2 separate regions of the Homo sapiens genome follow, and region 2 is linked to region 1. Evidence: promoter capture Hi-C in 16 types of primary human blood cells and fetal thymus (Javierre and others, 2016). All regions are on one chromosome and are shown on one strand. The core of a region is centred on a gene start or on the middle of the fragment in contact, and the rest is flanking DNA. Distances in the headings are between cores, read along the strand shown.

Region 1 (4,651 bases), core at 423-2,922:
TAAAAAACTTGGGGCCGGGCGCGGTGGTTTATGCGTCCTTAGCATTTTGGGAAACTGAGGCAGGTGGGTGGGGAGGGGAGAAATCTCTAGGGACCTGGAGTTCGAGACCACCCTGATAACGAGACCCCTGCCTCTTAAAAAAAAAATGACTGGGCGCGGTGGCTCACGCCTGTAATCCCAGCACTTTGGGAGGCCGAGGAGGGTGTATCACAAGGTCAAGAGATCGAGACCACCCAGGCAAACATGGTGAAACCCTGTCCCTACTAAAAACACAAAAATTAGCCGGGCGTGGTGGCGAGCGCTACTAAGGAGACAGGCAGGAGAATCGCTTGAACCCAGGAGGCAGAGGTTGCAGTGAGCCGAGATCACGCCACTGCACTCCAGCCTGGGCGACAGAGCGAGACTCCATCTAAAAAAAAGAAAGAAAAAAAATACCAGGCGCGAGGCCCTCGCCTGTATTTGGCGGACTGACAGCAGAAGGAACACTTGAGTCCCAGGAATTTGAGATTTCAGTGAGCCATGACCTCGCCACTGCACTCCAGCCTGGGTGACAAAGCGAGACCCCGTCTCAAAAAAAGAAAAACAAAACCCAAACAAAAGTATTTCTGGTGATCATTTGCTCCTGTGAATATAATAAATGTTAAACTAACCTTTTTGTTGTCTTTATGGGTCTTTATCAATACCAGAACCTGGTAGTTCTTTGATCAACTAAAATCTCCATCCTAATAAAATGCTGTTGTCAGAACTACCCAGATTCACTGGCAAAAATCTAATCACTGACCCAAACCTGTAATTCCGCGCATGCTAATGAAATTAAGCAATAATTTACATAATTAATCCAATCAGCCATTGGATTGCATTAAACTCAGTTAATGAAGAGGTCAGATACCATTTATTGGTATCATTTAGTCAAGCACCTATCAAACTCCTTCCCCACACCACACTGGACAAAACTAAAGTTTTGGTGTTTTAGAGAATGTGCCAGCCTAAGTTTAAATTGTTTTTGTTCTGGGTCTTGGTACAGTCATTAAAAGATTTAATTAAGCAGTTACAAAACGGAACTACTTTTTGGAAATACTAGCAAATACGTTGTTCTACTGTATGTATTTTTACACGATCCGAAATAGGAAAAATGACCCATTGGAAATGAGTTTAAGACTACGACTGACCTACACAAATTCTAGGTCAGATTATCTTTTCATTGGGGGAATCTTAACATGATTGGTTGAAAACAATAAATAAAAGTGGCGCGGAGGACGAGCGCAGTGGCTCACGCCTGTAATCTAAGCACTTTGGAAGTCCGAGGCAGGCGGATAACTTGAGATCAGGAGTTTGAGACCAGCCTGGCCAACATGGTGAAACCCCTTCTCTGCTAAAAAAAAATTAGCCGGGCGTCGTGGCAAGTGCCTGTAGTCCCAGCTACTCCGGAGGCTGAGGCAGAATCGCTTGAACCCGGGAGGCGGAGGTTGCAGTGAGCTGAGATCGCGCCACCACACTCCAGCCTAGGCGACAGAATTAGAAGCCGTCAGGTAAAAAAAAAAAAAAAAAAAAAAAAGTGGCAGGAACCAAATGAAGATAGTATTAACAACCAACCAGGTTTTTCCTACAACAGTTCTGACCAATCAGGATCAGATCATCGTTATAAATTCTGGTAGAAGCCACTGCTCATTCAGCTGCTTGCTTTCAGAGCATAGCTTTCTCAACTATGGCCCGGACGAAGCAGACAGCTCGCAAGTCTACCGGCGGCAAGGCACCGCGGAAGCAGCTGGCCACCAAGGCAGCGCGCAAAAGCGCTCCAGCGACTGGCGGTGTGAAGAAGCCCCACCGCTACAGGCCAGGCACCGTGGCCTTGCGTGAGATCCGCCGTTATCAGAAGTCGACTGAGCTGCTCATCCGCAAACTGCCATTTCAGCGCCTGGTGCGAGAAATCGCGCAGGATTTCAAAACCGACCTTCGTTTCCAGAGCTCGGCGGTGATGGCGCTGCAAGAGGCGTGCGAGGCCTATCTGGTGGGTCTCTTTGAAGACACCAACCTCTGTGCTATTCACGCCAAGCGTGTCACTATTATGCCTAAGGACATCCAGCTTGCGCGTCGTATCCGTGGCGAGCGAGCATAATCCCCTGCTCTATCTTGGGTTTCTTAATTGCTTCCAAGCTTCCAAAGGCTCTTTTCAGAGCCACTTACATTCTCACTGAGGATAGCTGTCACACCATTGGTCGACTGTCTTAAATCAACTTTAAAGCAGGGATAAACTGGCGGAAAGTCGTCAAGGGTTGTTCATTCTGATTCCTTGCAGTGTCCTTTGTCTTCTAAGACGGTCCTTTTCACTTGTCCTCTGTGACCCATCTCACAAGGGTCTCACTTTCTCCGAGGAAAGTCAGCAAATCTATATCCAAGGTCAATCCGCTTCAAGGGGAAAGCCAAAGTCCTTCCTGCACATGCTGTCCTTTGGGGATAGCATCTCCAGAACCCCATAACTAACAATTAGATTACAGGTTAAATGAGATGCCATTTTTAACTGAAACGGGCACTGCCCTTGGGTCCCCTGGAAGCTTGCTGAAAATCACGGACATGAGGCCGGTTGATTTAGCACATAGACACGGGAGACTTCAAAATGAGGACCCACCCACCAATGAGATACAGAAGTTTATATATCACCTTGAGATTATAGAAAGAGTGCAAGCTTGGAACCTGGGAAAACAGATTATAGGAGGGAGAAAGGAAGAGACTTGGCTAGCAAGGGGGGCGGGTCTTGTTATGTAGATGAAAACACATAGCTAGTAGTCCTCAGAAAAAATAGATGGTAAATGTCTCTTGTCAGGGTGGGCGTGGTGGCTCATGCCCTCCACTTTGGGAGGCAGTGGAAGGAGGATTCCCTGAGCCCAGGAGTTTGAGATCAGCCTGGGTAACAGCAAAATCCTGTCTCTACGAAAAACAAATAAAAAGAAAGGTGGGTGTTGCAGCGCACAACTGTAGTTCTAGCTGCTCAGAAGGCTGAGGCAGGAAGATTGCCTGAGCCCACGAGTTCAAGGATGCAGTGAACTATGATTGCACAATTGCACTCCAGCCTGGGTGACAGAGCAAGACAGTCTCTTAAAAAATAAAAATAAAAAAGGATCAGACTCTCAGTTAATCTCTCCTAGATCCAGGAAAGGACTAGAAAGGGAAAGCCTGGCAACAAATGGAAATTTCCCCCACAAAAGACTGATTTGCAGGGCCTCATCGGTCTCCGGGCCCTGAGGCAGCCATTTCAAAATAGGGCAAAGAAATATCTTTTGGGGTAAAATATTTTTATTTCCTTCACTTTACTTTCCTCAAGAGACTGCTTTAAAGGTTAAATGCAGTAATATATTCTAGGGCCTTGGACAGTGCCCCAGAAAACACATTAGGTACACAAAAAATATTTATTGAACCTGATTTTATCTCTGAATCTTAGTTTGGAGTGGCTCTTGTGGGAGACTAAAATATGCCACCCCGAAGTATACTTTGTCATATTTCAAGATGGCTATTCAGAGAAACTGCAGAAATAGGAATAGCTCTGAAAAGCTCTTTTTTGTAAAAGAATTGTATACCTATCAAGGAAATCTACATTAGTAAACAGTGGATGCAAGTACTGGCTTTCTCTGAGGCTCCCTTTCCTGCCTAAAGAGGAATCTAAGACTGACTCAAAGGAGAGAAAACTACTTTGTCACAGGCTGTCAGCTATTCTGCGATTACCTGAGAGACTTTATCTACATAACAAGAAAACCTTTGCCTTTCCTCCCCTGGTGCCTTTGCCCTTCCTCCTTCACCCTCCTACAACATGTGTCACCACCTCCTCCAAACCCCCAGAAGTCTCAAGACCTTTTTTCTTTCTGTAGTCTCAGAATGGCATAAAAACGTCAATTATTTGGCCCTTCTGAGAGAGAAATAATATAGGGTGGTCACAAGAGAATAGAAGATTCCATGCAGTAGTTTCACATGACTAGCAAAAAGGAAACTGTTGAAATAGCTGCACAAACTAGGAGCCAAAGAGACCCTGAAAACCGAAATGTTTGCCAAGCTGGCTAAGTCCTACTTGACCCAACATGGCACTGGATTTGACCTAGCTTTCACCTGGGACCTTATTATACACTTATTAACATACAAATCAGACATCCACCAACACCATGACAGTTCCGAGAACACCCATATTTCATGGAAAAATGGATGGCACCACAGTTCTGAGAAATTGTCACCCTTTTCCAGAAATCTTCATGGATATTCCACCCCTTGGTTAAGGAAACCCATAAAGTTAGAAGCCCCAATCACTCCTGGGCAAGACTGACTCTCTTGAGTAAGCCTGCACTTCCCTTCCTTGAGCATGTATTTTTCACTTTGCAATAAACCTCTGTACTTTTTCTGACTTGTCCTTGGATTCTTTCTGGCAGCAGTGGCAAAGGCCTGGACACTGGCTGGGATCAACATCCTAATGGCATTTGGGTACCTCCCCTAGCCCACCGGTATCATTTCTTGGAGTACTGTATTTTGTGAGGCTCCTGTGCATATGCAGGTAATAAATTTGTATGCCTTTTTTTTTTTTCCTGTTTATCTTTCTACTGTTGGTTAATTCCAGAGACTCAAATTATTGAAACTTCAGAAATCAAAGCAGAAGTTTAAAATGACCTTCACC
Region 2 (4,057 bases), core at 222-2,721, 1.3 Mb after region 1:
TGCTCCATATACAATTCTACATACAGTGGCTAAAAGAAAGCCATAAAAAGTTAAAGAAGTGGAGGATACAAAACACAATTATTTCACATTTTGAAATATAGTTTCTAATAGTATTGGGCAGATAGGATAAAACAACTTGGAGATGCCGGGGATCGAACCCGGGACCTCATACATGCGAAGCATGCGCTCTACCACTGAGCTACATCCCCTACCCTAAGAAACCGTTCTTTGTAGCTCTCCCTAGTTGTTTGTGAAAGATTTCTGCTACCACCCCACCGCCCCGCCGTCTCCGTCCTCCCATATCTGTCCCCGTCCCCATCTCTGTCCCCAAAATTCTAAGATTTGCGGACTGCTGAAACTAAATTCTCTTTTATTTGTCGAACAAAATCCTGAAATGGTTAATGGGGCAGCATCCATCAGTTTTCAAAGTGTGGAAAACCTTCCAGCCATCAGACATGCTTGTCAAATACTTAACCTACTGACCCAGGGATAGAACTATTGACAACTACCTGGAAATCTGACAAGAAAAAGGAGAGTGAGGACGCTTCTTCACAAACTTCTTTAATTTATTTTTCCTTTTTTAAGGAAAACCAAGGCAGGTGAAACCAAGAACTGCTAAATCAGTTTTCTCTATCTTTCGTCTCACAACAGCTTCCCTAAGTCCGTCGCCGAAAAGGTGATTCAATTACTCCCCTTTATGTGCACCAGCGTCAGATCAGGTTACTTTTGAAAATGTTTTGTTTGGGCCCAAGTTTAGAGAGAGGATTTGAGATATTTATCTGGGAAGCCTAGGAACTGAAGGCGAGCATTCTGTTAGTCCTTGACTGGACTGGATTATATGAATACATATATATGCGTGTAGAAAGATAGGTAGATGGGTAGGTGGGTAGATAGATAGATAGATGATAGATAGATAGATAGATAGATAGATAGATAGATAGATAGAATTTTGGGGGGATGTTAGTATGGATTTGTAATATGGTTAGACCTCGGTCTTAAAACGGACCCTCGTTATGGCTGAGCTTCTGTGCTGTTATTAGCAAGAATTTCTAAATTACCAGGTCCTTATTAAAATCGCAGCTGAACCTTCTAAAATCACCTTCTAGGTCAGATACATAGATTAATAAACCAGGGTTGATGCAGTTTGGACATTTTGTATGAAGCTTGGTAGCTCAGTCAGTATGGCCATGGACTTTTAATCTGAGGAACCAGGTTTCAAGTCCCTGTTCAGGTGTCGCTGTATTTCTCCTTTTTTATTTCCATTTCTTCATTTTTAACCCAATACGTACAGTATTCTTTCCTTATCAGCAGGAGATATGTTCCAAGACACACAGTGAATGCCTGAAACCTCGGATAGTACCATAGTATACTATGTTTTTTCGATCTGATAACCAGGATGAATACTAAGTGACTAAGATGTGGGGAGCGCATACCGCGTGGATAGTCTGGACAAAGGGATGATCCTCGGGCGGGTGGGAGATTTCATGACGCTACTGAGAAAGGGGAGTTATTTGAAACTTATGAATTTTTTATTTCTGGAATTTTCATTTAATATTTTTGGACCACGGTTGAAGGGGGTAACTGAGACAGCGGAAGGGAAACTATGGACAAGGCGGGAGAGGTTACTGCAGTTAGAGAGAGGAAGGTTAAGGTCAAGTCACGGGCTGATATCCCCGAATAAATGAAGGACTCTTGAGCTGACCATAGGTCTCATAACCTAGGAGCTGTTTAGAAAATAGATGGGCCTTTTGGAAAGGGAGCCACAGCGCACAAAGCTTTTCATCTGCAATAGGAGTAAAAGTTGCAATAACAATGGCTACAAGTTGTTAAAGGTTAAACTCTTTCTTGAAAAGCAACAAAAATGCACAGGCTCCCTCTTTTCTCTATTAGCGTGCTCCTTTCTGATCCCCTGCTTTCCTGATCCATGGGGTTGCCCAGGTAAACAGACGTGGTTCTTCACCCAGAACTTGGGCCTAGTGGCAGTAGCTTTCATTTTTTTGGTGGTGACCTACAATTTAGTTTAGTTTACATCGTAATTCAGTCATACATATGTAACAGAAACAAAAGTTGCATGAACTATTCCTTACTCTTAACACACACACTGCATTCTGATTATTTCTGATTCTAGTCTATTCTAACTGAAATTTAACATATCTTTCACTTACTAATACAGGTAACAAACCACAATTGAAAGAGAAGTAACTACGACTCTGTCATCAAGAAAAATCACATATTTTTGGCCGGGGGTGGTGGCTCATGCCTGTAATTCCAGCACTTTGGGAGGCCGAGGCGGGCGGATCACCAGGTCAGGAGATCAAGACCATCCTGGCTAATACGGTGAAACCCCGTCTCTACTAAAAATACAAAAACAAAATTGGTGGCGGGCACCTGTAGTCCCAGCTACTCGGGAGGCTGAGGCAGGAGAATGGCGTGAACCCGGGAGGCGGAGCTTGCAGTGAGCAGAGACCACGCCACTGCACTCCAGCCTAGGCGACAGAGGGAGACTCTGTCTAAAAAAAAAGAAAAGAAAAATCACATATTTTTGTATCACAATACAGTTGTTACAAATACCCAAGACAACTGTTTGAAAATTACAGCAGTCATAAGACGGGTCTTGATGTTTAATATTTAATGCATTAATGAGAAGCACACATTACTCTATGAAATTATTTTAATCGTTTGAAAACTGTTTTGTAGTACAATTGGCTTTCTTTAAAATCCTGTGTATTTTTTAAAAGCTTTTAAAAATACAATTTTGAAAAGGGCTCCATGGGCTTCATGCTGGGGCCAGAGGGCTCCCTGGGAGCTAAAAGATGAAGAAGCCGCGGAAATTCGCCATCTGGGAGGAGACCACCGTCGGGTGCCCGCCATCCCCTTCCGCCGGAACTCCACTAAAGAGGACTAGGTGTTAGCGCTGGCGCGGGAGGCCGGAGCAAGGTCTTTAAAGGTCTAAGGTGAAATTCCGGGTGGGAGCTCAGTCAAGCCTCCCCTACCCAACTGGGAATCAGTGCGCCAACCGGAGCACGCCCCCCAGGCGACACCGAGAGGCGCGGAACTCCCAAGCCTAGAGGGCGTCGGAAGTGCATCCCAGAGCGGAGCAGCCAGAGGGGCGGGGCGTCGCGGCGCTGGGGCCGCGCCCTCGGGTATCCAGAGTACGGCTCTTCCAGGCCATGTTGATGACCCAGGGTGGAAGCCATTGGAGAGTTTTGAGAGAAGAAGGAGGTATTTTTTTTTTTTTTTTTTGAGACGGAGTTCTCACTCTATCTCCCAGGCTGGAGTGCAGTGGCACGATCACGGCTCACCGCAACCGAGGGAGGTACATTTTAGCGGGATTTCTGTGAGAGGCATTCGAACCAGAGCGACTCCATTTTGAGTGAGGGCTAGGAAAACGAGGCCGGGACTTTTGCTGGGCTGCATTCCCAGAAAGTCAGGCATTCCTAGCCTCTAGATGTTTATGGTTAAGGGAACAAATTAATAATGTTTACTAAACAGACCCAGACTTGGGAGTGTCTAGATGTCCCCATATCTGGAGAACAAAGGCATTCCAAATTTTGCTTTAAAGATAATAATATCGATTCTTACAAAATATAATAAGAAAATTAATCCTTTATCACAGACCCTTGTAGCAGAGCACATCTCCCCATACTTACAGGTATGTATCTAGGGTGGACACTTTCCTCCGCGTTTCAGGAACACCCTACTCTGTCTATGGAGTAGCTGTACTTTCACTACTTAACTTTCTTAATAAACCTGCTTTTACTTTGCACTGCGGACTCGCCCTGAATTCTTTCTTGCGGGAGAGCCAAGAACCCTCCCTTGGGGTCTGGATCGGGACCCTTTTTCTGTAACACAACAACTATTGAGAAAAGAAGGTAGTGGTGCAAGAACAGATACAGAAAAATAAGTTTCCCTCCCTCTTCTTTCCAACTCTTCCATGCTCAGTGCCTCAGATGTGAGGGTCAGAAATTTGGTTATTAAAAACTCTAGGCCGGGCGTGGTGGCTCACGCCTGTAATCCCAGCACTTTGGGAGGCCGAGGCGGGTGGATCACGAGGTCA

The links. The method cuts DNA at HindIII sites, captures the fragments that hold promoters and counts their contacts. A CHiCAGO score of 5 or more calls a contact.
Region 2: a fragment that was not itself captured here is called in contact with the fragment with the promoter of H3C12 in region 1 in 1 of 17 cell types (fetal thymus); the score reaches 7.4 in fetal thymus.

What each region holds. Positions count from the first base shown.
Region 1 is chr6:27,887,847-27,892,497 of GRCh38, reverse strand. It overlaps H3C12 (H3 clustered histone 12), which reads left to right and starts at 1,672. Exons shown (of 1, transcript NM_003535.3): 1 at 1,672-2,183. The coding sequence starts at 1,706. The coding sequence ends at 2,116. RefSeq lists enhancers at 1,700-1,919, 1,436-2,080, 2,140-2,439, 2,081-2,725, 2,726-3,370 and 2 more. The HindIII fragment of the contact is 2,915 bases long and covers 1-2,156 here.
Region 2 is chr6:26,549,655-26,553,711 of GRCh38, reverse strand. TRA-CGC1-1 (tRNA-Ala (anticodon CGC) 1-1) reads right to left here and starts at 209; the gene lies at 138-209. RefSeq lists a silencer at 204-253, a cis regulatory region at 1-526 and enhancers at 2,794-2,843, 2,828-3,362, 3,622-4,057. The HindIII fragment of the contact is 612 bases long and covers 1,166-1,777 here.